Regions from separate parts of the Homo sapiens genome. Here all the other regions are linked to region 6. The links are contacts of gene promoters, found by promoter capture Hi-C in blood cells and fetal thymus (Javierre and others, 2016). All regions are on one chromosome and are shown on one strand. The core of a region is centred on a gene start or on the middle of the fragment in contact, and the rest is flanking DNA. Distances in the headings are between cores, read along the strand shown.

Evidence for each region. The method cuts DNA at HindIII sites, captures the fragments that hold promoters and counts their contacts. A CHiCAGO score of 5 or more calls a contact.
Region 1: a fragment that was not itself captured here is called in contact with the fragment with the promoter of SLC43A3 in region 6 in 2 of 17 cell types (naive CD8 T cells and M0 macrophages); the score reaches 5.7 in naive CD8 T cells.
Region 2: a fragment that was not itself captured here is called in contact with the fragment with the promoter of SLC43A3 in region 6 in 1 of 17 cell types (neutrophils); the score reaches 6.0 in neutrophils.
Region 3: a contact is called between a fragment that was not itself captured here and the fragment with the promoter of SLC43A3 in region 6, in 6 of 17 cell types (monocytes, total CD4 T cells, activated CD4 T cells and 3 more). The highest score is 8.5, in monocytes.
Region 4: the fragment with the promoter of FAM111A here is called in contact with the fragment with the promoter of SLC43A3 in region 6 in 2 of 17 cell types (non-activated CD4 T cells and naive CD8 T cells); the score reaches 9.2 in non-activated CD4 T cells.
Region 5: a fragment that was not itself captured here is called in contact with the fragment with the promoter of SLC43A3 in region 6 in 1 of 17 cell types (M0 macrophages); the score reaches 5.4 in M0 macrophages.
Region 7: a contact is called between a fragment that was not itself captured here and the fragment with the promoter of SLC43A3 in region 6, in 3 of 17 cell types (erythroblasts, monocytes and activated CD4 T cells). The highest score is 10.0, in erythroblasts.

What each region holds. Positions count from the first base shown.
Region 1 is chr11:58,635,941-58,639,708 of GRCh38, reverse strand. No RefSeq gene overlaps it. Among named protein-coding and RNA genes, the nearest start is that of CNTF, 15 kb to the right of the region's middle. The HindIII fragment of the contact is 3,239 bases long and covers 1-3,004 here.
Region 2 is chr11:58,610,803-58,614,109 of GRCh38, reverse strand. ZFP91 (ZFP91 zinc finger protein, atypical E3 ubiquitin ligase) reads right to left here. Exons shown (of 11, transcript NM_053023.5): 5 at 3,056-3,160; 6 at 2,372-2,506; 7 at 1,782-1,832; 8 at 1,270-1,348. It overlaps ZFP91-CNTF (ZFP91-CNTF readthrough (NMD candidate)), which reads right to left. Exons shown (of 13, transcript NR_024091.1): 5 at 3,056-3,160; 6 at 2,372-2,506; 7 at 1,782-1,832; 8 at 1,270-1,348. Among named protein-coding and RNA genes, the nearest start is that of CNTF, 10 kb to the left of the region's middle. The HindIII fragment of the contact is 1,495 bases long and covers 1,085-2,579 here.
Region 3 is chr11:58,563,532-58,567,120 of GRCh38, reverse strand. It overlaps LPXN (leupaxin), which reads left to right. Exons shown (of 9, transcript NM_004811.3): 3 at 2,920-2,966. Among named protein-coding and RNA genes, the nearest start is that of LPXN, 11 kb to the left of the region's middle. The HindIII fragment of the contact is 2,012 bases long and covers 383-2,394 here.
Region 4 is chr11:59,141,247-59,144,537 of GRCh38, reverse strand. It overlaps FAM111A (FAM111 trypsin like peptidase A), which reads right to left and starts at 1,682. Exons shown (of 6, transcript NM_001312909.2): 1 at 1,592-1,682; 2 at 1,234-1,455; 3 at 843-1,041. It overlaps FAM111A-DT (FAM111A divergent transcript), which reads left to right and starts at 1,730. Exons shown (of 4, transcript NR_110184.1): 1 at 1,730-1,923. It also overlaps the pseudogene LOC100422399. RefSeq lists enhancers at 1-96, 1,465-1,914. The HindIII fragment of the contact is 3,476 bases long and covers 91-3,291 here.
Region 5 is chr11:59,220,494-59,224,109 of GRCh38, reverse strand. No RefSeq gene overlaps it. Among named protein-coding and RNA genes, the nearest start is that of MPEG1, 9.4 kb to the right of the region's middle. The HindIII fragment of the contact is 657 bases long and covers 1,420-2,076 here.
Region 6 is chr11:57,425,725-57,429,232 of GRCh38, reverse strand. It overlaps SLC43A3 (solute carrier family 43 member 3), which reads left to right and starts at 2,112. Exons shown (of 14, transcript NM_199329.3): 1 at 2,112-2,171; 2 at 2,581-2,645; 3 at 2,881-3,244. The coding sequence starts at 3,061. RefSeq lists a silencer at 1,993-2,352 and enhancers at 2,595-3,387, 2,496-3,508, 3,388-3,508. The HindIII fragment of the contact is 9,438 bases long and covers 1-3,508 here.
Region 7 is chr11:58,588,735-58,592,056 of GRCh38, reverse strand. The region is part of intron 2 of ZFP91 (ZFP91 zinc finger protein, atypical E3 ubiquitin ligase); the gene reads right to left. All of the region lies in intron 2 of ZFP91-CNTF (ZFP91-CNTF readthrough (NMD candidate)), which reads right to left. Among named protein-coding and RNA genes, the nearest start is that of ZFP91-CNTF, 11 kb to the right of the region's middle. The HindIII fragment of the contact is 5,379 bases long and covers 1-3,322 here.

The DNA.
Region 1 (3,768 bases), core at 136-2,635, 1.2 Mb before region 6:
TGCTCCTTTCCGTGAGCCTTCTTTAATTGCAAATGCCCTAAGAGGGATAAAAAATCAAGACACTGATACTGAATAGAAAGGAGAAACACCACACATAGATCAGTGAATGGAAATTGTGCTTTGGCATCAAAGAACCTGGATTCAGATGCTAGCTCTGTTGTGTACTGTGACCTTAGGCATTTTACCTGACTTCTGTGGGTCTTAGTTTGCAAATGTGCAAAAGTAGAATGGTGAGAGGGTAAATGAGATTATAAAGCACATATTTCAGAGGCTCATTTAGAGCAGTAGCTAGTCTCAGAAAAAGGAGGAGCCCCTAGAGGGTTCCAATGATGAGGCCTGCGAGGATGCTGGGGTTTCAAGGCTGCAAGCAGGCACTGAACATGTCCGTGCAGGGGGAACTGCTGGACAGCGGCTAGAAAAACCTAAGTAATGCAGAGCTCGGGCTGGCATTGCAGCAAGTAACCACCTCTTTCCAGACCATGTGCACATGGTGCCAGGAGGGATAGGGTCATAGAAACCCAGGCAGAGCTTGTTGACCACTGGCTCAACTACACCAAAGCCTGGGCGGCTCCATCAGTGCTAAGCTCCGCTTCCTCCCCAGCCTTAATGGTAAGTTCTCAGCCAAGTGCCAGAACGTCAAGGCGTACAACCCGGGGTTCCATCAGGTTGTAGGTCACAGCCAGAGTGCAGGTCCACCACAGCATCTACTCTCTGAAGGTCCCAGAAACCCCTGATATTCAGCCCTGCTTCTCGCAGCATGTGCGGACCCTCAGCAACCACCTGGAGAACCACCCAGACCCAGGAGGCCAAGTACCTGGCAGAGATGCTTGTGCTCAGGTATGGCAAGCATGTCCTCACCCACGTGGAGGCAAATACTCGTCACTGGCAAGTTTTTTGTGCCTCAGCTTGGTCCTCTTTAAAATGGAGTTAGTGTGTCAAATTCCTAGGTTACTTGAGAGGATTAAATGAGCTAATGGAAGCAAAGCACTTTGGAACACTCTCTGGCCTTTCTAAATGTGAAAGTTCATATCTATGACGATTTGCTGCTGCTTTAGGATTGAGATCCCAGAGTCAGATCACACAGACCGAGGCTCAAGTCCCAGCACTGCTGCTTACTGGCTCAGTGACCCTGGGCAAATTGTCCCACCACTCTGGGAATTAATCTCTTCTCTAAAGTTGGGATAATATTAAAATTGATGTCATAAAATTACTGTGATGATTAAATGAGATACTGCAAGGAAACCCTTCCCCATAGTACCTGGCCTGTCACCTTGAGCTGTCATGATGTGGAATTGACCATGATGATCATTCTGATGGTGATGTGAGGACGTGAGTGGCAGAGTTCTATGTACCATGAAGAACATAAAGATGTCCAACCAGGGCTCATGGTTGAGTGGGGCAGATACACCTAATATATAAATTACTCATTGTGAAATGTGATACAGCTTCAAACATTTTCTATGGGAAAATGAAGGAGGGATACAAATTCTGAGAGATGTCTGATAAGGCTTCTGGAAGAGGATGGAATTTCTGCTGCATCTTGAAGATTAGATGTGAGAAAGAAAAGAAGGACTTCCCAGAAAGAAACAGAGTTTGATCCAGGGCTGGGAGCAGGAGCACCAGACTCCTTCTGGCCTCAGCCAGACACACATAGATTTGTTCAATTCTGCTGGCCTGGGAGAATCCTTTCAACAGCAACTGGAAGCTCCATTATGATGGCCTCAGTTCATTTCTTTGAAAATATCCCCAGGCTCCGGAAACTGAGCTCCCTGACTGAGAAAGGTGAGGTGGGGGCCAAGGCAGAATAGGTTTTGGCCTGAGGTTTAAAAAGAAAGGTGGGAGAGAAGAGAGAATGGATTATCTTATAAGTAGAGTAGTCATATAATTTATCATCCAAATCTGAACTCCGGTTGAAACCAAAAAAAAAAAAAGGTGTTTTAATTATATGGGACAATGCTCATAAACTGGAACGTATGACATCCACCTTGATATGACTGTTTGTCATTGGGCCCTGACCTCCCTTGTCATCCTGATCTCTAGCTAGCCTTCAGATTCCCCCTCCCATGACACACTCCCAATATGTTCCACACACTGATCCCCTGATGTGTCATGGTGATTCCTGGCTGTGCCTTTGCCTGATGAAGTCTAACTCATTAATCAAGACTGGGTTCAGATGTCAGCTCCCTTGAGAATATGTCTTTACCTGCCCCTCCTTCTCACACACACATACTCCTTCAATCTCCCAGGAAGAAAGCATCTCTTACTCCTCTTGACGACCACCCAACCTTAGCAGTATGTTTATATGAGCATGTCACTTGGCATGAGTTCTTTTTCCAATTTGACTAAGAGCTCTTTTAGTGTGGGGAGGGTTGGTGTTGTCCTTATTGTAGTTACTGCCAGGGCTCAGCCTCAGAGCATCAGACAGAACTCTGAGATAGGTGCTGTAAATTTTAGAGGTATGTGCTCTAAAAGTTAGCTGAATGAATGAGAGAAAACCAGAAAGAGGTCTTATGAAGCCTCAGGTGATAGGAACCAGCTATTGGATTCTTTTAAATGACCTGCCCCTCTTGGATTCTTAAGTGTATTATTATTTCATTCATAAACCCGTTTTGAGCCCCATTTTTGTCCATTGTAAGTGCTATCATAAATACAAAGATGAATAAAACTTAGTTTTCACTGCCTCAAAATATTCTAGGCAAGTTGACCAAAAAATAGTAAACAACAGAGAAGGCAAAGGGGGAGGTGGTAGCATGTGTAACCATATGGTCTCCAAGTTCCTTTTAGAACCCTGGGTCACCGGGTGGAGGGGCTGCAGTAATTCCACCCCAGCTGATGATAGCATGGTGACTGCTGGGCTACTGGCCCAGAGTTGTTCCTTGGACGTTACACATTGTCTTCTCCGGAGCAAGCTCCTCTTGGACAATTAGGTTGTTGCCCCCTATTGGATACTGTAAGTTATGTAAAATGAAGAGGTCTTCTGCCTTATTTTGACTTCTAGAAAGCTTAGAACCAAATTCTGGTCATTTCCACAACATTTCTGTTGCTAAACTCAATCTTAGTTCCAACTTTTCTTTTTTGTCCTCATATTCCCTCTTGAATAACTCATTTTTCAAATTTGTATATGATATGTATTTACAAAAAAAACTATATGTTCTTTTTTAAAAATAAAAAGAAATGAGTACAGAGCTGAGTAGCTGTGGAGGAAGACCTAGTAAACCTCTGAAACCCACCTTCTAGGCCCACTCCTCATTTCAGCCCCAGTCTCACTCCTTTAGCCTTGCTCTTGGTCCAAATTCCATCCTGCCTGGTGATAGTTCTCGTTACCTCATAGAGATGGGCTGTCATAAACCAGATATTCTTCAGTTCCTAAAAAATTTGACAATGAAAAATAAATTTAAACTTAATTTCAAAACTATGTTGAGACTAATTTTTTTAAACCAAGTGTGTGTGTGTGGAGGTGTGCAAGTAAAAGTGGGGTGTGTATGTTGTAAAAAGAATATGTTGCAGCATTGAAAGGCTGGGAATCACTAAGTTGTAGGTAAACAGATCGGCAAGGTTAGGGGCTCAAAAATCAGACGGAGTTCAAGGAGTATCTGCTGAGCTTCATGGTTTGGGAGTCTGGGGTTGGGAAAGTATGAAGTAGGGAAGAAAGAAAGATCTTCTTTCCTTTCATTTAACTTATTTATTCATTCATTCATTCTTAAGAAGGATTGTGCTGTGAATAAAATGCACTGAAGGAGAAAATATAGGGGAAAAAAAGTCTTTGTG
Region 2 (3,307 bases), core at 583-3,082, 1.2 Mb before region 6:
AGTGAGGGAGTATAATAAAGTGGCTAAGAACATAGGTGGAAATACACAGACCTGGTTTCCAATCTGGGTCTGTCATTCACTAGCCTTTGTAATCTTAGGAGACAAATATTTCAAGCTCCAGTTCTCATTTGTAAAATGGAGGTAACAATAACCATCTCAAAGTGTTGTTATGGGGATAAGAGATTATGTATTGTACTGTGCTTTAGAGCAGCAAATGGCACACAGCAGAGGAGGAGCGGCTATTGTTATAACTGAACCACGATCCAGAAGAAGGCCTTCGTGTCATGTTATATTTGTTGCTGAAGATCAAACAGGTATTTCCTAAGCAGTATTTCACTTTCACGTTTCCTGCCAGACCTAAATATAAGTGGTACGTTTACTCATCAAAAATAATAATAATAATCTACTCAAGAAAAATAAAAACAAAACCTCAACTAAAAGTCTTTTATTCATTCTACACAGTACCCAAGAAATCACAGGTTTGAGTTCTAATTTTACTTTTTTTCTAAATCACTTTAAAATAAAATGTTACTCTGTATTTACACCACATTGGGAATTACTGTAATATTGAAAGATTCCAACGAAAGTTCTCTATGTGGGTTCAGATTCTTAGTCACCTCTTTTTAAACAGGAGGTGCTATGAATTTGGATGTGTTCACCACAGTTCATGTGTTGGAAACTTAATCCCCAATGTGATAGTGTTGGAAGGCGGGACCTAATGGGAGGTGCTTAGGTCTTAAAGGCTCTACCCTTATATAAATGGGTTGATATTATCATTGGAGTAGATTTGTTACAAAAGCAAGTTCAACCCATTCTTGCCCTTCCACCATGGGCTGACACAGTTAAAAGGCTCTTGTGAGATGTGGGCACCATGCTTTTGGACTTTCCAGTCTCCAGAACCACAAGCTAATAAATAAATATATGTTCTTTGTAAATTACCCAGTCTCAGGTACTCTATTATAGCAGCACAAATGGACTAATCATGATTAACCCATTTATGCTGGAGGTTGCAAATGTATTTTTGTGAAAAATCAGACCTTGGTGATGACCTTGAACAGTAGGATATAAATAACTTGCCCAAGCTTAGCATTCTAATAATGGAACACTAGGCATAAATGGGTTAAAGTCATTTTATGTTTAAAGAAAGACTTTTCTTGACATTACATGTCAATGATAAAGCCTACACAAGCCAACAAATTAAAGTCTCGTGGTGCAAGAACAAGTAATGGAACACAACCTGAAAGGCTCTTATATAACAACTTCACTGACCTGCAAATAGCGAGGATGGGCAAGGACAGTTCCACATCCTTCCATCTCACAACGGACATACTGGATTGGAGGCTTTTTTCTATTATCAAAATGCAGAAGAAAAGTTAGCAAAAAAAAAAAAGTGGTACTCTGCACAGTGGCCTCTGACTTAAACTGTGCTATTGGGAATAGCTATTTTATAGTAGGAAGAATTAAAATCTCTTTACTACTATACAGATTACACAGAATTTGTATTAGAAGTAACCAAGAATTAGCAAATATTTGACAGAATTAAAAAGTAACACAAATAAACTAATGACCCCCCAAAGGTAAAGTATTAAGATTGTTAGAAATTTCAAGCTCTTACAATGAAAATAAGATCATAACACCTGTGCATCTAGGACATTAGTGAAGTTGCTTTTGTGAAATTTTTAAATAGCCATTCCTGCAGGATTATCATGAAGTCTAAATTTGTGAGTAAAGTGCCTGGTACTGGAATAAGGTGTAAAACAGTAGGGGTAAAAATTCCTCACCTCCTTTTGGGTAAACGTGGACTTTTGTCATCTTTTCGTCTTCTTCCTCTCCTGTAATTGAAGACAGGGTAACAGTAGACATATTCTGAATCAAAACTACACAGTGAAGGCTGGCTGAAGACACACACACACACACACGGCCAAAGAACAAGTGGCAAAGGATAACCAAGAATACATAAAGTCAAAGATATATCTGGCAAATCAAGCAAGTAATTTTACCCTGAAGTAATTTCACTTTCAAATCAGTCTGTAAGACAGATTAAATATATACCTTCCATAAACTATGCAATACTATGAAAGACTTAGAAGAATCTCAATGTATTACTTTTAGAGTTGCTACCATGTATCATCTAAAAACACTAAGATTAAAAAATACCTTCTCCTTGCAATAGAACTGAAAAACCTAAACATTTTTTTACTAAGAGTCTCTCCAGTGAAATTGTCAGCTGCTTGAGGCCAAATTTTTTTAAGTTAAAAAATACATATTTTGAAGCATGTATACGTCAACATCCTTCCTCACACTCCCACTCTTTTTTCCACTAGTCGTTCAAAATCTGTTAGATTTTCATTTTTAATAATTGCCTACTCACTTCCTTGGAGGTTCCTCATCCTCTCTAATTTCATTCTCCTCTTCTTTCACCTCCACCTCTACTTCCACTTTAATTTCCTTCTTCTCCTTCTCTTCTTTTACCTTCCCTGATTTTCTCCGTGGCTTTGGGGTTTCCCTGAAAACACAAATGCATTTCAATACTAGACAAAAGATCTTTTCAAGGAAGACTATGACAACAAATTAAAGCTTAGAGTTATCACTGATTTGTTATAAAACTACCTTCCTCAGTTCATGAAATGTGATTTCCTACCAATCATCCTCACATGCATAGTAATGATCCAAATATATGTATATGTTGCTCATGGAATGAACCCTCCCCAGACTAAAGATGCCTGTAAATCAAATTTCACTATAATTGTAAAGAGAAACGAGACAATTAGTTAAAAAATTCTAAGTATTCAGGCAATTCATGATACCTTGTTGAAATAAAACATGCAGACTCATAAAAACTTGTATATAATCAAAATAAAGTTCTACAAATGGGAAAGAGGATTATTATCAGGGTATATTAAGGTGTTAGACTTACAAAAGAAGTGCATAATTAATTACTCATTTAAAATTAATTCTATACCCATTAGCTTGGCAACAGATAAAATAAAAGCATGCAACAGTGCTTTCCTACTTATATTTCATTAACATGTCTGCAGTAAAATCTGAGACATGCCTTTCTAAGTGGGGTTTGTAGGTCTCATCTCTTGGATCATCTTTGAATGGTATCTCCTCTTCACTGATTAACATCTCTTCTTCCTCCTCCTCTTCCTCTTCACTACTAAAAATAAGTAAATAGAAATGAGACATTCTGGTTGTAGCGAACATGTCTGAGGGGATTTTATTTGGTAATTTTTTAAGAGGTAGCCAAACACTGATAAAGTCATCTAGCATTTTCATCCTAATGACCTAATTGGACTGAAATCTA
Region 3 (3,589 bases), core at 139-2,638, 1.1 Mb before region 6:
CACAAAATTTGTGACTGCATTCAAACAAGCTGCGGTATTCTGTCAGTCAAAACAGAAACTAAAATTGTCAAAATGTATAAATTATAAATATATATATACACACACACACACACACACACAGATTTTATAAGTAACTGATCTACAAAACTTTTCTGACAGAAGCTGATATTGAACACTACCATGCAAGGAAACATTTCAGAATGACTATATGTATATTCCTGTCTGTGTTGCATGTCATCAATTGGATTTTGGGAATGCCTGAGCCTTTGAAAAACCACTTTGTAAAGCAACCCAAATTTAGATTGCATTATGTTCAAGACCAGTTGGAAATTTTTAATCGATTACTGAATGAATGTAGCATGAAAATTCAGCTTTTGAAGCTTTTAGCAAGTTACAATTATGTAAAATAAGGCTTGCAAAGGAAGAAGCTCAAATTTCTCCCTACAAAAGCGAAGAAGGAGTTGAACAAATCAAAAGATGAAAGCAGATATGGTTTAATTATCTATTTTGACAATTGTGCTTCAGAAAAATCTTGACTTTGATGTATTTTGACTTCTAATTTTATTTGGATAAATTTTTATTCTCTACCAAAATGGAGAAAAATTGTGAAAGTCTATGATTTTGCAGTATCTAGATTTGGTGAAATGTTGAAACAATCACAGATATAGACAACTTGAAAGTTTTATCTTGTAAGAAATTATTGAGCAAAAGTGCTTTGAATGAAGGTAGAAAGACAGCACCTATGACGATATTGGCCTGAAATATTTACATATTTTAATCTAAAAAATGAGAAGATTCTTCATTTAGCAGAACTTACAGGTTCATCAGTATCTAGAGAGGAAATGTGTTCTCAGTTAAAAACATATAGTGAAGCATCAATTAAAGTTGTCCATAATTTCAAATATATTAACCATAAAATGAAGTTTTGAAAAAGATTGCAGTTTTATAAAAAAATAACTGTTTAAATAAAAAACGAAAAAAAACACATGTTCCTGAAAAATGTCCACATCCCAATGCTAGAGACAATAATATCTAAATAACCAATTAAGGTATGTGAATACATATAAAGAATAATTGTCTGTACCATTAAAAATGTTCAGATAATCAATTTTTTGTTGTTGTTGAGACAGAGTGTCACTCTGTTGCCCAGGCTGGAGTTCAGTGGCATGATCTTGGCTCGCTGCAACCTCCGCCTCCTGGGTTCAAGCAATTCTCCTGTCTCAGCCTCCCGAGTAGCTGGGACTACAGGCACCCACCACCATACCTGGCAAATTTTTTTGTATTTTTAGTAGAGACAGGGTTTCACCATGTCTGGTCACATGACACCAGGCTGGTCTCAAATTCTCCTGACCTCAAATGATGCACGTGCCTCAGCCTCCCAAAGTGCTGGGATGATAGGCGTTAGCCACTGTGCCTGGCCAATATTTTTTTAAAGTTGCTTGAATGTTCATAACTTTGTATCACTATCACTTTAAGATATTTCAGGAAATTTTTATTTTGAAAATAAATTTTGGATAGAATTATCTTATAGGTCCACCAATATAATAAGACCAAATTCAGGTCAATAAACACATTTTTTTTTTTTTTGAGACCGAGTCTCGCTCTGTCACCCAGGCTGGAGTGCAGTGGCATGATCTCAGCTCACTGCAATCTCTGCCTCCCGGGTTCAAGCAATTCTCCAAGCCTCAGCCTCCTGAGTAGCTGGGATTACAGGCACGCAACACCACTCCCAGCTAAATTTTTATAGTTTTAGTAGAGATGGGGTTTCACCATGTTAGCCGTGATGATCTCGATCTCCTGACCTCGTGATCCGCCTGCCTCAGCCACCCAAAGTACTGGGATTACGGGCGTGAGCCACCACGCCCGTCCAATAAACACATATTTTAAAAATGATACAAGCTCGTGACCCGTCTGCCTCGGCTGCCCAAAGTACTGGGATTACGGGCATGAGCCACCATGCCTGGCCAATAAACACATATTTTAAAAATGATACAATATGACTTATTTTTGGAACCCATTTTCTTTCTAAAAAATACCCCATTCTGAACGTTTGGTGATGTGGCCACCTCATCTGTATGATCTGGCCCCTTTACTTGCTGTCCCTGTGTCCTTGGTTCACTCTGCTCAGGCCACACTCTCCTTCTCGTGGTTCCACAGATGCTCCAGGTGGTTTTCCTGCTGGCCTTTCCACCTGAATCATATGACCCCAGATATTTGCTTTCTTTCCCCACCTCCTATATAAGTCCTTGCTCAAGCGTTCTCTTCTCAGTGAGTCCTTCCCTGATCAGTATATTTATAATTGCTGTCTCTCCCCACTTCCCATCCTCTATGCAGAATATTACTTTTACATACCAATTTCTTTATTATTTGTTTCACAGCACCAGAATGTAAGCTTCAGGGCTTACAGTTTTTATTTGATTTTTTTGCTTTTTGACTGCTACATCCTCAGCCCTGGCACATGACAGGCCCTCAATACATATTTGTTCAATTAATAAATGAATTGCCAGCCAACCATCTTTTAGATTCACATGTTATTTCTTTTCATATGTCAAGTTTAATAACATTATAGTCTCCTCCTAGGCACCATCCTGTTTAGTTAAAGGGGCTTAGCTCTGACCCATTTTATTTGATTTATGGTTCTTATCTAAGGAGGATCAACTTCTCTATTTGGGTGGTTTTTAGGCAAGGAGGGGCTGCTAGTGTTTGTTCACATGCCAACTACTCTGTTTAGAATTTGGCTTTTCTTTGTGGGATGGCTGGTAATTCCTCTGGCTTGTGAAAGAAGAGCTCATAGATATGCCACTTGTCAGTCCCCTTTAAAAGCTACAAACATCTATTAACTGTGGGTATCATTAAGCCTCAACATTCTGATAACAAAAATTTATTCTTTGCTCTTCTCTTGTCACTTATATATCTTAGGCGCAGCTCGTGTATACTACCAATATCCAGGAGCTCAATGTCTACAGGTATTTTTTTTTCTATTAAATGCTTTTAAAAATTAAAGTTAGTAGATAATTGTTATCAATCTTTGTTTGGGTGATAATTTGCTTTGCAAGTGTTTATTATTAGAACTCGTATATCATCCTCCTCTTTCCATAGTCTTTGAGCATAGGTAGAATTCTGTGAAGCTGACTTGACAACTTCTCAAGGTGCCTGGCTTCTGGAAGGGTTGTCTAGGCTAGTGGGCCCTGCTATGTCCATTACCACCTAAAGAAGTGTAAATACTCCCAGAGTTACCACAGATGTTTTGTCCACGCTATTCCAGATGTTATGCTTCAGTTTCCTGAAAGATAAAACACACCTGAAGAAACTTCAGCAAGATTCTAGCAATGTCAGAGCTAGGATGAGGGTTAAACTAAGACAGTGGGTCTCCATGGCCAACTGATGAGTATTTACTTTTTCTTTCCATATTTGCTCAAAATTTGTATAGTGGGTAGAGGGATTTCCTTTTATGAGAAGTTCCATATTAAAACAGATACACTTACTAAATCATTTCTCCTGGCTAAAGCAGAATTGGCAGTCTGAAAAAATAACAAGATTAACTTACTTATTCTCTCCTTAGTTATAGCTTGCAATTTTTAACATCAGA
Region 4 (3,291 bases), core at 433-2,932, 1.7 Mb before region 6:
CTTTTACACGAGTACAACAAAAAACAAGAACAGAGACAAGTCGTAGTGTTGCTAGTGATAAGGCAGATTTTTCACCAAGCCTAAAAAGCTTTTAAAAATCTGGTCCCATAACCAAAGGGGTTCCTAGAAAGATTTCTTTATGCCTAGGGACAAAATAAACTCAGCGCTTGAAAAACTGAGCAAAAAGAAACTGGAGTTCAACCTGATGCAAGATCTACTTTCTCCACCTTTGAGATCAGGGAGAGCCTCAAGAAGGTTGAAGGGACTTCAGGGCACACACTGATTCTGAGTTGAGGGTTGGGAGGTTGATTAGGTCTTGCTGGAGCCTCCAAGAATGTCAAATGTTGGCTCCCAGTAATATCAAAGCAACCTGTTGATAAGACAAAGCTAAGTTTCTTGCTCACTTAGGTAATGGAGAACAATAACTTGACAGAATTTAAGTGGTGTCTCAGAGAGGGAAGAGCAAGTTTGGGCTATATGTATTGAGATTTTGAAGTCCCATTGTAAGTCTAATATTTAATGAGGGGAATTGGTTAGAATTGAGTCAGCTACGGGTAAAAGTTTAGGATTGGTAGATAAAACAAGGCTAGGATTTTGAGGTAAAGGTTCAAAGTCTTAGAATGTAAACTGTTCTTTGATGTTTTCCATTGAAGAGTGGTTGGATCTTTGAAGAAGATACTGGATTAAGCAATAAAGATATTTGCAACTTTCCGGTCCCTGGCAAAAGTTTCTTGAAATAGTAAATGTATGTTGATGAAAATAATGGAATAAGAAGTCAGGTTAATGTAGTTGGCAAGCTATGTGAGTGTAGATGGCTTCAGTTCTCACAATAGTGAACATACCTGATAATGTACTCAACATTTGTCACTTAGAGTATTTTATCCTGGAAAGAAGCGTAGTTGGGAAAACGCACTTGAGATGATGTTTGCTGCACACAGAATTCGGACACAGAGATGTGAATCTCCTTAGGAACCATTTTCATAAAGTTAACATTGGGTCTTAATAGACATCAGTTTTTAAAAATTAGAACAGGCTTGGGCACTGCAAAAGAAAGACACATCCGTTCACTTGGCTGTTCTTTTTAAGTTTCCAGGGAGAGCGTCAGTGCCCCTTTCAACAATAAAAGCCCGCAGGAGTGCAGATTTTATTTACCCTGTCCCCACCAGCATCCTGCTGCGGCCAATGAATCCTGGCAAAACTCCAGGTCAGCCCCAGAACCAAAGAGTAACTCACCTAAGAGGAAGGTCCGTTCCCACCAAGTCTCAGACGCCTGAACTCGTGATTTTTAGGGACTTTCCCTTCCAGTCCCTTGGAATCCAGCACTTTGGTTGGAGAACAGAACTCACTTGGGGAATGGCGCGTCTGGCCAATGGAATGAAAGATACTGGAGTTTGTCTTTTCTCTTCAGGCAGCAACTCACCTACTTCGGAAGCCGATTGGCTGCGCTGGGGACACCTGTTGGCGTGCAAAAAAGAGTGGTTGGAAAGGCAAGGCCGAGGGGGCGCGCCTACCCTACCCACCCACAGCGCTCCTCCTTGACGCCGCGAGCAGGACCCTGTCTCACTGACCCCGTGCCCACGGCGGTCCTTGCCTGCTTCTATTCTCCCGGTTTCCCCAGTCCCGAGTATTGGAAAGCGAGAGCGAAAGCGAAAGCATCCTAGTCGCCGGTAGGCTGGCCTGGGCCGGGCTGGAGAGGGAGCAGGAAATAAAAACTCGGGTGTGGGAGGAGCTGGGACGCTGGCGGCAGAGCCACTGTGGCAGCTTGAGTCTCGCGCGCGCAGGAAGCGGAGGTGGAAGTTGGGGCGCAGGAATGTGGCTGTCCCCGCCTGTAAATCATGGTTGGGGAGGAGTCGCGGAGGCACCAGGCTGGGGTCTGCAGCGCGCCATCTGCTGCAGCACACAGGAGGCGCTGAGGCTAGTTGGGTAAGTGGGGAGATTTCAGGCACTTCCGAGGGGGCGGCATCCCCAGCAGGTGGGATAGGCCCGGTGACTAGGACAAAATCACGAAGAAGCCGCGGATGCAGGAAGAGTAAACTCCCTTGTCATAAATCGATTCTCCAAACGTTCATCAATATGTGGAGACGTTTATGATAGTGATGAAGAAGATGATATGGGCTCTAGGAATATGCATCTCAAAGCTGATGATCGAAGAAGATTGGAGAGGGTTTTCAAGGCAGCCTGCTGTTTAAGGACCTGCATTCTGAGTAGATGTGTATTGGAAAAGGCGATTACAGTCACAAAGGGGACAACTTTTATGCAATTGACAGAGGACTATATGATGTATATAAACAGATAGGGTTGAAAGGTGTGTTGGTAACTACAAAACACATGGGAATTTGAAGGAAGGAACTGGCCTTAAATGCATGTACAATACACCAAGAGAAGCTAAAATTACTGCTTCATCTTCTGTGGGTTCTTTGGGGTTTGGATAGAGTAACCTTAAAACATATTTGAATGCTGACTTTTTCTATGAGACTCACTTTTGGAATCTGTGCATTCCTACATTCACAAAGGGTAATCACAGCTAGTACCCAGCATCCAAACAATAGCAGCCAATAATTCTAATCTGGAGAAAATTTTCTTTTCTCTCTCTTTCTCTCTCTCTCTCTCTTTCTTTCTTTCTCTTTCTTTCTTTCTTTCTCTTTCTTTTTTTCTTTTTCTTTCCTTCTTTCTTTCTCTTTTTTCTTTTCTTCTTCATTCCTTCCTTCCTTTCTTCCTTTCTTTTTTCTCTTTATTTCTTCTCTTTCTTTCTTTCTTCTTTCTTTTTTCTTTTATCTTTCTTTCTTTCTCACTTTTCTCCTTCCCTCCCTCCCTCCTTTCTTCCTTCTTTCTCTTTTGCCTGTTTTACATTTTAATGTGTAAGCAAATAGTGATTAAAGGACAATAGGCTTAACATTTTCTAAAACATGGGTGTTCAGAATTGAATATACTGATAAAATTTGTTTCCAAAAGGAAGGATTATATACTAGGTGGGAGTGTAAATTAGTTCAACCATTGTGGAAAACAGTGTGGCAATTCCTCAAAGACTTAAAAACAGAACTACCATTCAACCCAGCAATCCCATGACTGGGTATGTACCCAAAGGAATATAAATCATTCTTTCATAAAGACACACGAACACGTATGTTCCTTGCAGCGCTGTTCACAATAGCAAAGAATCAACCTAAATGCCTATCAGTGGTAGGCTGGATAAAGAAAACTCAGTATACCATTGAATACTACACAGCCATAAAAAATAATGAGATCATGTCCTGTACAGGGACATGGATGGAGCTAGAGGCCATTATTCTT
Region 5 (3,616 bases), core at 499-2,998, 1.8 Mb before region 6:
ATTTTGTAAGTGAGAAAATGAAAGCCCAGAGAAAGGAAGCAATTTGCAAGATGGTGGCAGAGCTAGGATTCACACCGACTGCTCCTGAATCCTCATGTCCTGACCATAATCTTTCCTCTCTATGAAGAATTCCTTCATATTATCTCACCCACCATGAAAGTAAAGGAGAAGAACATTGCAGAGATCTGGCTCTTGTTAACATCCCACTGCCAGTGAAGTTAGTCTCCAGACCTTTCTCCACCCTCAGACCTCAATTCTCTCTGTCTTTTTCTCTCCCCACTTCACTGATGCAATCACTAGCTGCTCTTTTGCCCTCTCCCGACTCTCAGGAAAAGTTGTGTTGTCATCACTTGGTGAAATAGCAGTTCTTCATCTTTATTCTAGCGGTTCAGGGAGAGGGAAGGCAGATTAATTACATTTGCAGCCTGAGCTCTCCCTATGGAAAGAAAGTTGTTACTTTCAGAAAAAAAGGGTTTTAGACTTCTGTGAAAGTATTATTTTATTCAGGGCAGGGGTGTGACAGCAGGAAAGTTTGTTTCCCACAGCCCTGAAACCACAATACATGCATGGCAACCTGTTACATCTAAGAAAAAGTTAACAATTACAAAATAATTATAACAAAAGAGAACTTGGCTGGGTGAGCTGATGCATGGAAACCCTGCCCTGCATATACTCAGGTATAGACACATTTCTTCAAACACAAAGATTCAAGCTCAAAACCAAGAAAGGGAAATACCTGAAGGCCAAAAAGAGAGAACTCAAAATCAGAGCAGTAAGTGGGAGTTGAAGCCCTGCAGCTAAGGAGCTTGTTGGGCCTTACGTAGACTTAATGGCAGAGTCTTGGGGCTTTAAGGGCTGTGGGTGGGGATCCAGGCTGCTGGTCCTGTGTACAATGTTCAAGGGGGTGATGGAACTGTCTTGGGAGTCAAGAAGGCTTATGACCACATAGGTGTGACGTTTTTGTTCACATTGTTCCCAAACCAAGAAATTACCATAAACACTGGTTCAGCATAAGGCCTCATATACTCAGCATATTCAGTATAAGTTTATTCAGTATATTGAATCTAAGTCCTCATATACTGATAGAGTAGGCCTCAGCAGAGGCAAAGCTAAAACTATCTTGGAGGGACAGTTCCATAAACCGGAGCAAACCAGCCTCCCACAGCAAACAACCCCAGTGGAAATGCAGCTCAAGACTCATAAGTTACAAACCACACAAGGAAGCAAGTCACAAAGGGGAAGTATCAGCAGAAACAAAACACGGAAAAATTTCCACACCATGACCTGGATTCAACAAGATATTCTTTTTTTTTTTCAAGTAAAACATCATGGTCATAATTTTGAAGAAGTTTGTTATCACTGGATTGCAGAATCACAGACTGTGTGTCATTCAGATGCTGGAGAGAATCTCAACAAGCTTTTTTATTTTACAGATGGGGAAACAGAGACTCAGAGAGGGGAAGTGACTTGTCTAAAGTCACCCTTAGGTTAGTGGGAGAATGAGGAATAGAATCAAAGTTACCAGGTTTCTAGCCCTGTGCTACTTTTTCTGTCCCATGAGGCCCTAATTTCTCAAGGTAAAAATTAAAAATCTAACTTGAAGAGAGGACCAGTAGAAAAGAGAGAAAGACCTATCAAGGATCTAGGAAAAGCTGGAGTGAGGACCCTAGTTCTAATTAGCAAAGCTCCTATTTGGCTCTCTAATAACTAGAAATTTTAAATAAATGCCTCCTGTCTTGTATTTGCATTATGCTGACCTGGTTCTCTTTCCTAGTTTTCCCCTACTTAGTCCTTCTCCTGCTGTTGGCATAATGAAAGTGTTATTACAATTGGGGCAAGTCAGGTTCTGTGAGAGTTTCTTCTTCCTTCCCAACCTTTGCCCCACCCAGCTTCTATATCTATGTAGGAGGGTTAGGAACAGGGAGAGGGGTAAGACCAGGTACCTTTAGGACAGACTCATTAGCTGCAGATATCAGGCAAAGATGGGAAGCAAGGTGGGTACGGAACTGGCTATGGGTTCAGCCTTGCAGGGCCAGAGCCTTGAAGACCAGATCAGATGTAAATAAGGCCAAAGCTTTTGGCATAGAGGAGCACTGTCTTTAGGCTTTGTAATTGATTCATTATGTAAGACATCAAGTTTACACCATCCCACGTTTGCCAAGGATATAACTTCAGACCAGAAAACCAATTCTTTTATAGTAAGAAACACAAATAGCACAAACTAGACCCAGGGTAACTGTTCAAAAATATTGTAGTAAATTCAAATAAAAATTTCATAATAACGTTACTTAAGCTTGAGTATTCCATCTCAATGAGTCATGGCCTGCTTTTCCAGGGAAATGTTTGAGAAATGCTGTCAGATTTGTCTGTTTTATTCACGTCTTTATTCATTCAATATAAGCAAACTATGTACCAAACATTGCTACATTCCAATAAGAGAATGATAAACCAATGACACAGTCCTCTGTCATTAAAGAGCTTACATTCACTGGAGGAGAGAGTCAAACAAAAAGTCAATTGAAATACAGAGTAATAACGCAAGGGGTGCTATTGGAGCATGTAAGAGGAAGATTCTGGTATTATTTAATGCCCTATCATTTAATAACGGTTTATTGGGAGGTGCAATCCAAGGGCAGCAAATGTGAGGGAGCAAGGGAGATAAGGTAGAGAAGGAGAGGAAGCAAATCTAGAGGGGTGTATTACTGAGCTGATCGCAACTCAGTGAAAAACACAGGTGGTTAATATCTTTAACCAGACCATACGTAACCACCAGGGCTCAGGACAGTCCGTTGGAGGAAGAAAGGAGAGGAAATTGTCTGCTAGATCTCTCCTGTATCTCAGCTCTAATTCATCAATGTTCACTGCCCTGTGGAATTAAGTCCTCTTAACTTCTGGGCTGTGCAGCACCTCTGGCCAGACACTGGAGAAGCCAGATGCCACACACAATGACTTGGTGCTTCAGTGGAGTCCAGATATGATGAGAGGAACCAGAATCTCTTTAAGGTCCTTCATGTTTAGGGTCTTCAGATAAAGTACAGGATGCTCAGTTAAAATTGAATTTTCGATAAACAATGAATAATTTTTTTATTCCCCAAGTATTGCATGAGACATATTTATACTAAAAAACATATTCACTGTTTATGTGAAATTCAAATTTAACTGGGTGCCCTGAATTTGTATTTGTTAAATCTAGCAACCCTACTCTTGCTGGACTTGCATAGGAACCACTGGGGAGGGGGAGACCATGCCAGAGCCCAGGCCTCTTCCTGGGAGAGAGGCAAGTGGTTTTGGAGGTGAGGGGATGGAGGACAACCTGGGAATCTACACAGAGGGAGTAGCCAAGGCTTGGGAAGCTGGTGCTGCTGATGGAATCTAGGGAGGCACATAAATTGTTATCTTACAACATAGGCCTATGGATTCAACAGTGGCTTCTAGGAAGAAATCATGTTTAAACTGAAATATGAGGACAAGCAGAAATTAGCTTGGAGAATTTAGGAAGTAGCCCAACCTAGATAAACAGCAGGCACTGCCCAGGTGCTACAGAGAGCACTTCAGGTTTGAGTCACTGCCCCCACCCCTCTTTTTACCTGCCCCTCAAAAGATAGCTCTTCAATTG
Region 6 (3,508 bases), core at 863-3,362:
TACCACATGTATTTGTTGAACCAATCAGTCAATTAAAAAAAAAAAGGTGTGAGATGATGAGGAAGGAGGCGAAGAGAAAAGGATGAAGACATCGGGTGCACCGTCAGACCTTATTATAATCACTTCTCTCTCTGATGTTACTCATTAATCCTCATTGGAGCCACGCAGGAGAGTGATCAGAATAGCATCTGCCTTTTCTAGCTGCTGGAATTCGAACCAAAGAACATGGGAATGGTTCAGAGGATATTCTAATTTCCTGTCCCATCAGTTCAGTAAGACTTGTGTTAGTGGAGGCCACGTCTTCTGCAGACATTGATGGGAGATGTGGAGTGGAGGCTCTAAGAGTCAAGAGAGGTAACAAGATAAGGTGGACAGAACCCTGGACGACCTGCCCCGTGTCCCGTGCTTCAGTCCTGGATGTACAGATAGCCCATGAGCTAGATCTTTCTGGCAGGCTCCTGCAGATTAACATTCTAAAATCTGTCTCTTTACTTTGACTTTTTTCTGTTTCTCCCTTGCTACTTCCACACTTACTGATCCCCCCAGGAGACTAAAATGTATGCCAGAGCAGAAGATAGGGCATGCATTAATTTCAGAGTCTTTGTGTCTTGCAGTAAAATAGAAAATCTTGCATCTTAAGCCCTGTTTGTCCTGGGATGCTATATTTTTGTGGATTTTCTCCCATAAATAATGTTATTTTAAGAAAAGACTTGTTTTCTCTAATGTCCAAATGTTTGTTAAGACGGGGTGATGAGAGCATACGTTTCAGAGTTGGGAAGGTACTGCAGCTTTGTAGAATGACCGTGGGCAAGTTCCTTTGAAATTCCTCCCCAGAGCTGCTTCTCTGGCTCTGTCTACATAACTGCAGACTAGAAAATCTACTACCCTACAATCTGCCTATAGCACCTGCGCCATGCAGGGACCTCATACACCCATCTTATACTTCTTTTATGACAATTCCTATAATTAAGGTACTATTGTCCTCGTCTTACAGGTGGGGCAGCCAAAGAGCTTGCCTCAGGTTGTATAACTAGTGAGTAGCTTGGGGTACAGGACCCCAGCCACCCTTCCTCCATTCAGTCAAGTCACTAGGGTGGTTGCAGACTTTTATCTTTTGTGCTTTGGTGGTGAGCTGGAAAATCCTCAGTTCTGGCTGTCCCCTATCGTAACCTCTATTTCTTCCTCTTAAAAAAAAGAGGAGTGGGCTTGGAATAGCTGGAGTTCCTGGGCCCTCAGGGGATCCAGGTAGCTGGGGTTGGGAGTCTGCAGACTGCATCTAATACGCAAGAAGCTCTCCCCAAACTGAGCTTTTGGCAAGGAAACGGCCACACAGGCCAAAGAAGACGTCAGCTCACGTGCTCTGGGCTGGAAGGATAGTAAGGCAGCTGCTTAGTAAGGCCTCACGCTGATCACAAGCTCCGATGAGCAATTATATATGTCTTTGATTAATAAAAAATGGGGCAATGAATGGTTAATCAATGCAGTCTGGCGGGAAGGCTCTTTCAGAACCTGGGGGGCGGGGGTGAGGCAGGGAGTCATCTAAGGGGTTTTTGGGAGTGAAAATATGGGGCAGTCCTCCAGGGGATGGTTTCTGAAAAGCCCTCAGTCCTGGTTCTTGGCTTCCTGATTCTGTGGTTGGGATTTTTTTGGCAGCTCTGGGAGTGTGAAACTGGGAGAGACGGTTAAGCTGGTGAGCAAATAGGAAAAATATGTTCCCTGCCAACCCAGCGGTCAAGGCAAAATGCACAAATAGAGTGTGTGTGTCCCTATGCCCTCATGTGCTGTCTGTGTGTCCTCTGGGTGCTGGGTGTGACATTTTCCCTAGGTGGGCCTGAGCGAGTAACAGCATTCAACTAACTTGGTTAGGGGAGGCAGAGGCAAGGGGGCTGGGAGGCTGAAAGGCAGCGAGGAGGGAGGGAAAGACACCGCTGGGGTTCTAGGGGGTTCTAGAGGGAGAAGTTTCAAGAGGGAGAGGTAAAAAGGGCGCGGGAGGCTGTGAGCAAGGGAAAAGAAGAAGGAAGTGATGGAGAGTGGGAGGTCTGCCCCAGCCCCTTCCGGGCGGGCAGGAGGGGGCGGAGGCGAGCAGGGGACTGGGAGGGGCTGCGAGAGGCGCGAATGCGAACCTGGCCCGTGCGGAAAGGGCGCGGAGAGCCCCGGCGCGGAGCAGGCGGGTAGGGCGAAGGGTCCCCTTTCGGGCGCCATGGGGCGCCGAGCGCGGCCTGGCCCCTCGGGCTCCTCTGCGGGGAGGGCAGGCCGCAGGCTGGAGCGGGGTGCGGAGGCTGGCGGGGAGCGGCCCCCGGAGGCTTTCCTGGTAGAAGTTGATGCGAGGAAGGGCGGCGGGGACCAGGTTTGCGAGTCCTAGGCGAGGGTCATGGGAGTTGGGGGTATTTCTGGCAGTAGAATGGCCTGCGTCGTGACTAAACTAGCCCTGTGACCTTGGGCAAGTTCCTGAAATCCATGGGAGCTTTTGTTTCATTGTCAGTAAACTGAAGATAACACCAACTTGGCAGCGGGAGTTTGTGTCTTCTGTATGAAATCTCCCTGCCTCTGCACCTGGTTGAGTTGCTGTCATTATTTTAGGGGACGGTATTCAGAATTCGAGCGCAGGAGCTCCGCTTCTCCACCTGCTCCCGGGGAGCTATTGGGTAAGTCGTTTATCTCACCTGTGACTCCAGGTGGCCATCAAGACCTGCCTCTCTACTTGCCACGTGGTTACTCAAATGCAGTGCCTAAGATGATGTATTGGAGTATTTATTCCCCACATTTGCTGCCAGCGGCCATGATCATCCTGCCTCTTAATGCACCTCACAAATAACTCTAGTCTACCTTTCCCTTTCCCGCAGGCCTCCTCTTCCAGCAGCCTCTATCTTTATTCTACAGGATCCAGAGAATCACCCGCTGATGGTTTTTGCCCAGGCCTGAAACAACCAGAGAGCTACGGGAAAGGAAGGGCTTGGCTTGCCAGAGGAATTTTCCAAGTGCTCAAACGCCAGGCTTACGGCGCCTGTGATCCGTCCAGGAGGACAAAGTGGGATTTGAAGATCCACTCCACTTCTGCTCATGGCGGGCCAGGGCCTGCCCCTGCACGTGGCCACACTGCTGACTGGGCTGCTGGAATGCCTGGGCTTTGCTGGCGTCCTCTTTGGCTGGCCTTCACTAGTGTTTGTCTTCAAGAATGAAGATTACTTTAAGGATCTGTGTGGACCAGATGCTGGGCCGATTGGCAATGCCACAGGGCAGGCTGGTAAGGGCAGGGATGACTTTTCTAAGGAAGTTAAGTCTGGCTCCCACGTGGTGGCAAGGAGCAGGAAGGACTCTGCCCCCTGCCCACCCCTCTTTCTATGATGAGAGGAAGGGTCAGCAGCTCTCACCCCACTTGATCTGGGAAGTGCCTGGGAGGGAGGCACCAGCTCCTGAGGGGTAATTAGGGGCAGCCACATTTCAACTCAGCTTAAGGGACAAGTTTGCGACCGACAAGCTGTCTGAGGTGGAGGGGAGCCCAGCCTGT
Region 7 (3,322 bases), core at 597-3,096, 1.2 Mb before region 6:
CCAGCTCGAGCATCACAAAAATTACCTCAAAGTTTCTGTGTCTTTCCTGAAAACAATACTTACCTACTACAGCTGCAAAACTGAGATTGCTGAAAACCAAACCCAGGCTGACCTGGCTACAGCCACTGCTAATTGCCTAATATGCCAGCAGCAGAGACCAACACCGAGTCCCTGATATGGCACCATTCCCTGGGGTGATCATCCAGCTCACCTGGTGCAAGGTTCGCTACATTGGACCACTTCCATCATGGAAGTGGCAGTGCTTTGTTGTTACTGGAATAGACTCTAGATACAAATTTGTCTTGCCTGCATAATGCTTCCTACATACATTGCATAATGCTTCCTATATACAAACACAAATTGTATGTCTGAGTCCATTTACACAAAATGTCCAGAAAAAAAACAAATCTATACAGACAGAAAGTAGATTAATGGTTGCCTAGGGTTGGGGGTGAGAATACGGATTAACTATAAACAGGCATGAAGGACATTATTAGGGTGAAGAAAAAGTTCTAAAACTGTATTGTGATAGGTGTGCAATTCATACAATGTACCAAGATCCCTAAATTGTACATTTGAAATGGGTGAATTTTATGATGTATAAATTACATCCCAATAACACTATATTTCAAAAATATACATCACAGTACTAGTCATAAAGACTAATAACTGAAAACTGCCCAAACATCCATCAACAGTAAAACAGTTAAACTGTGGTTATATTCCCACAATGGGACACTATACAACAACTAAAATAAACGATCTATGACAAACACAGCATTTGTCACAAATGATGAGCAAAATAAGCGAGACACAAAAGAGTGCCTACTGTATTATCCCATTTATGTAAAATTCAAAAATTGGCAAATCTAATTTCTGCTAAAGTCAAAATAGTGGTTACACTTGGGGGCGGTTGACTTGAAGGAGCATAAGGGAGTTTCCAAAACAATTATGTTTTATTTCTTCAGTTGTGTAAATGGTTACATGATTGGGCTCACCCTGGGTCCACCCACTTATAAAATAAAGAAGGGGGAGGAGAAACAAGAGTACATGTATATGTCTTATAATATGTGCATTTCTGTATACGTATGGTACATTTTAATAGGATTTCTCTAAAAATCACCTGTAATCTCAGGAAAAAAAAAAAACCCAGAAATATCAAATGCCCTTCAGTTAGGTAACGGTTAAATAATAGAATATAAATGTACAGTAGCCATGACTGGATATCCACAAAGCATCTAGGCACCTCTTCTTTCTTAAAGAATCAATCCCACTCTTAAACACAGTGGGAATCCCAATTAAGCTAAGCTAACAGCATCAAAAAATATGAAATACTCAGGGATATATGGGATAAAAAATTTGAAAGACCTATACACTGAAAAGTACAAAACATTGCTGAGTAAAATTAAAAACCTAAGTAAATGGAGCAGTATATCTTGCTTATAGGGTTGTAAATACTAATATAAATTTTATTTTGATTTTATGACTTCGATTTTCTATTTTTTGTTGCTGATATACAGAAATACAACTGATTGATTATACTGTGGGGGTGGTTTCAAGACACCTTGCAGTTACTGCCTTCAGGATTTTGGAACACTGCGCCACAACCACCATAATATAAAACAAGTCTGAACTGAATGACCAATGAGGAGGGGGGAATGGCCCAACCAGTAAATAATAAATTGCTGTGTTTTAAGCCACTAAATTTTTAGATGGTTTGTTATGAAGCTAAAGAAGCCTTTGCCCGGATAGCATTAGATTATTCAGGCTGGTTTTAATTCAGAGGAATTTCTTCTTTCTTGAACTTAACAGTCAAGGGGCAATATTACTTTTTGTCACAGATTCTTATCCACTAAGGCTCATTTCAAAATGAAGATACAAGCAAGTCTCTCTTAAAGGTTTTGGATTTGTACTGGCTGAATATGGCTTTCCCCACTAAGGATTTTAAGTTTCCTCTGCTTCAGTTTTCTTCTATCAGGGCATTCTGCTTTAACTCTCAAGTGGTCTTGGCAGGAAAAGGGATCTCAATGTAAAATAATATATATAGCAGAATAAACTTATAACTGTGTCGAAGATGGCAATAAGTTGAGCTGTAATAGGCAAATTATTATAAAGTTAAGACTCATTTACCTGATAGGTAATCCCATAACTGAAATAAGCTGATGATCAAGGCTTTTTAAGCCTACATCACAATTCACATATTATAAGTGACATATATCTTTATTTGTAGGAAATTAATAATGGAAAAGAACCAAAGGAGGTTTGGATGTCTGAACTAGCAATACGGATTAAAGGATCTGGGCCATACCCAACATGGAACAAGATGTCTGAGTAAATTATTCTCATACTAAGAGAAATAATACAGTTACTGCTACCTTAAGATAAAAGATTAGGAAGGAAGGACAAACAAAAATGTCTATCTACTGTATTTAGCCTTTGAGGCTTGAACATTATATTGTCAGAAACTTGAGTTTCTGAAACCTAACTGAACTACTCTGTGTATTTCTATCACTAGCTGCACTTTGTTTTCCATAAATAATTAAAGTTTGCTTTGAAATATTAGCCAATCTCAGTAGTATTAAGAGAAGCCAGGGAAAGAGGCTTTTGTTGTTGTTGTTGTTTTTAACTTACATTTAAATTTAGAACAGTATCATTTAATTGGTAAAGGGGAATATTTCAGTTAAAACTAACAGGCTGGGTGTAGTGGCTTATGCCTATAAATTCCAGCACTTTGGGAGGCCGAGGCAAGAGGACTGCCTAGCCAGACCAGGCTAGGCAACACAGTGAGACCCTGTCTCTACAAAAAAATCAAAAACAATTAGCTGGAAATGGCGGCACACTTCTGTAGTCCCAGCTACTTGGGAAGCTGAGGCAGGAGGATGGCTTGAGCCCAGGAGATCAACACTGCAGTGGGCCATGATCACACCACTGCACTCCAGCCTGGGCAATAAAATGAGACCCTGTCTCAAAAACAAACAAAAAAAACCTTAAAAGCCTATCTGAGTGTTAAGACTGGGCTTATACACGCCCTTTCTCACCTACAGATTTTCCTTCCAGAACTCTTTTTCTATTCAAAACCTAAAAGATTTTATTTTGACTGGGAAAACTAGGTCATTAGCAAGGAGATTCAAAATCTTTCAAGAAAGAATTGTGAAGACAATGTTCTCAGTATCTTCTCGATTCTTCCTTTTGTACACAAACTCAAATGGTAAGAATTACAAGTTAGATTTTTCTCACTGGAATGGGAAAAAAAGCATAAAAATGTGTCTTCTGTATTTTTAGAAATAATAAAAATATTCTTTAAATATACTAGAAAGAAAGA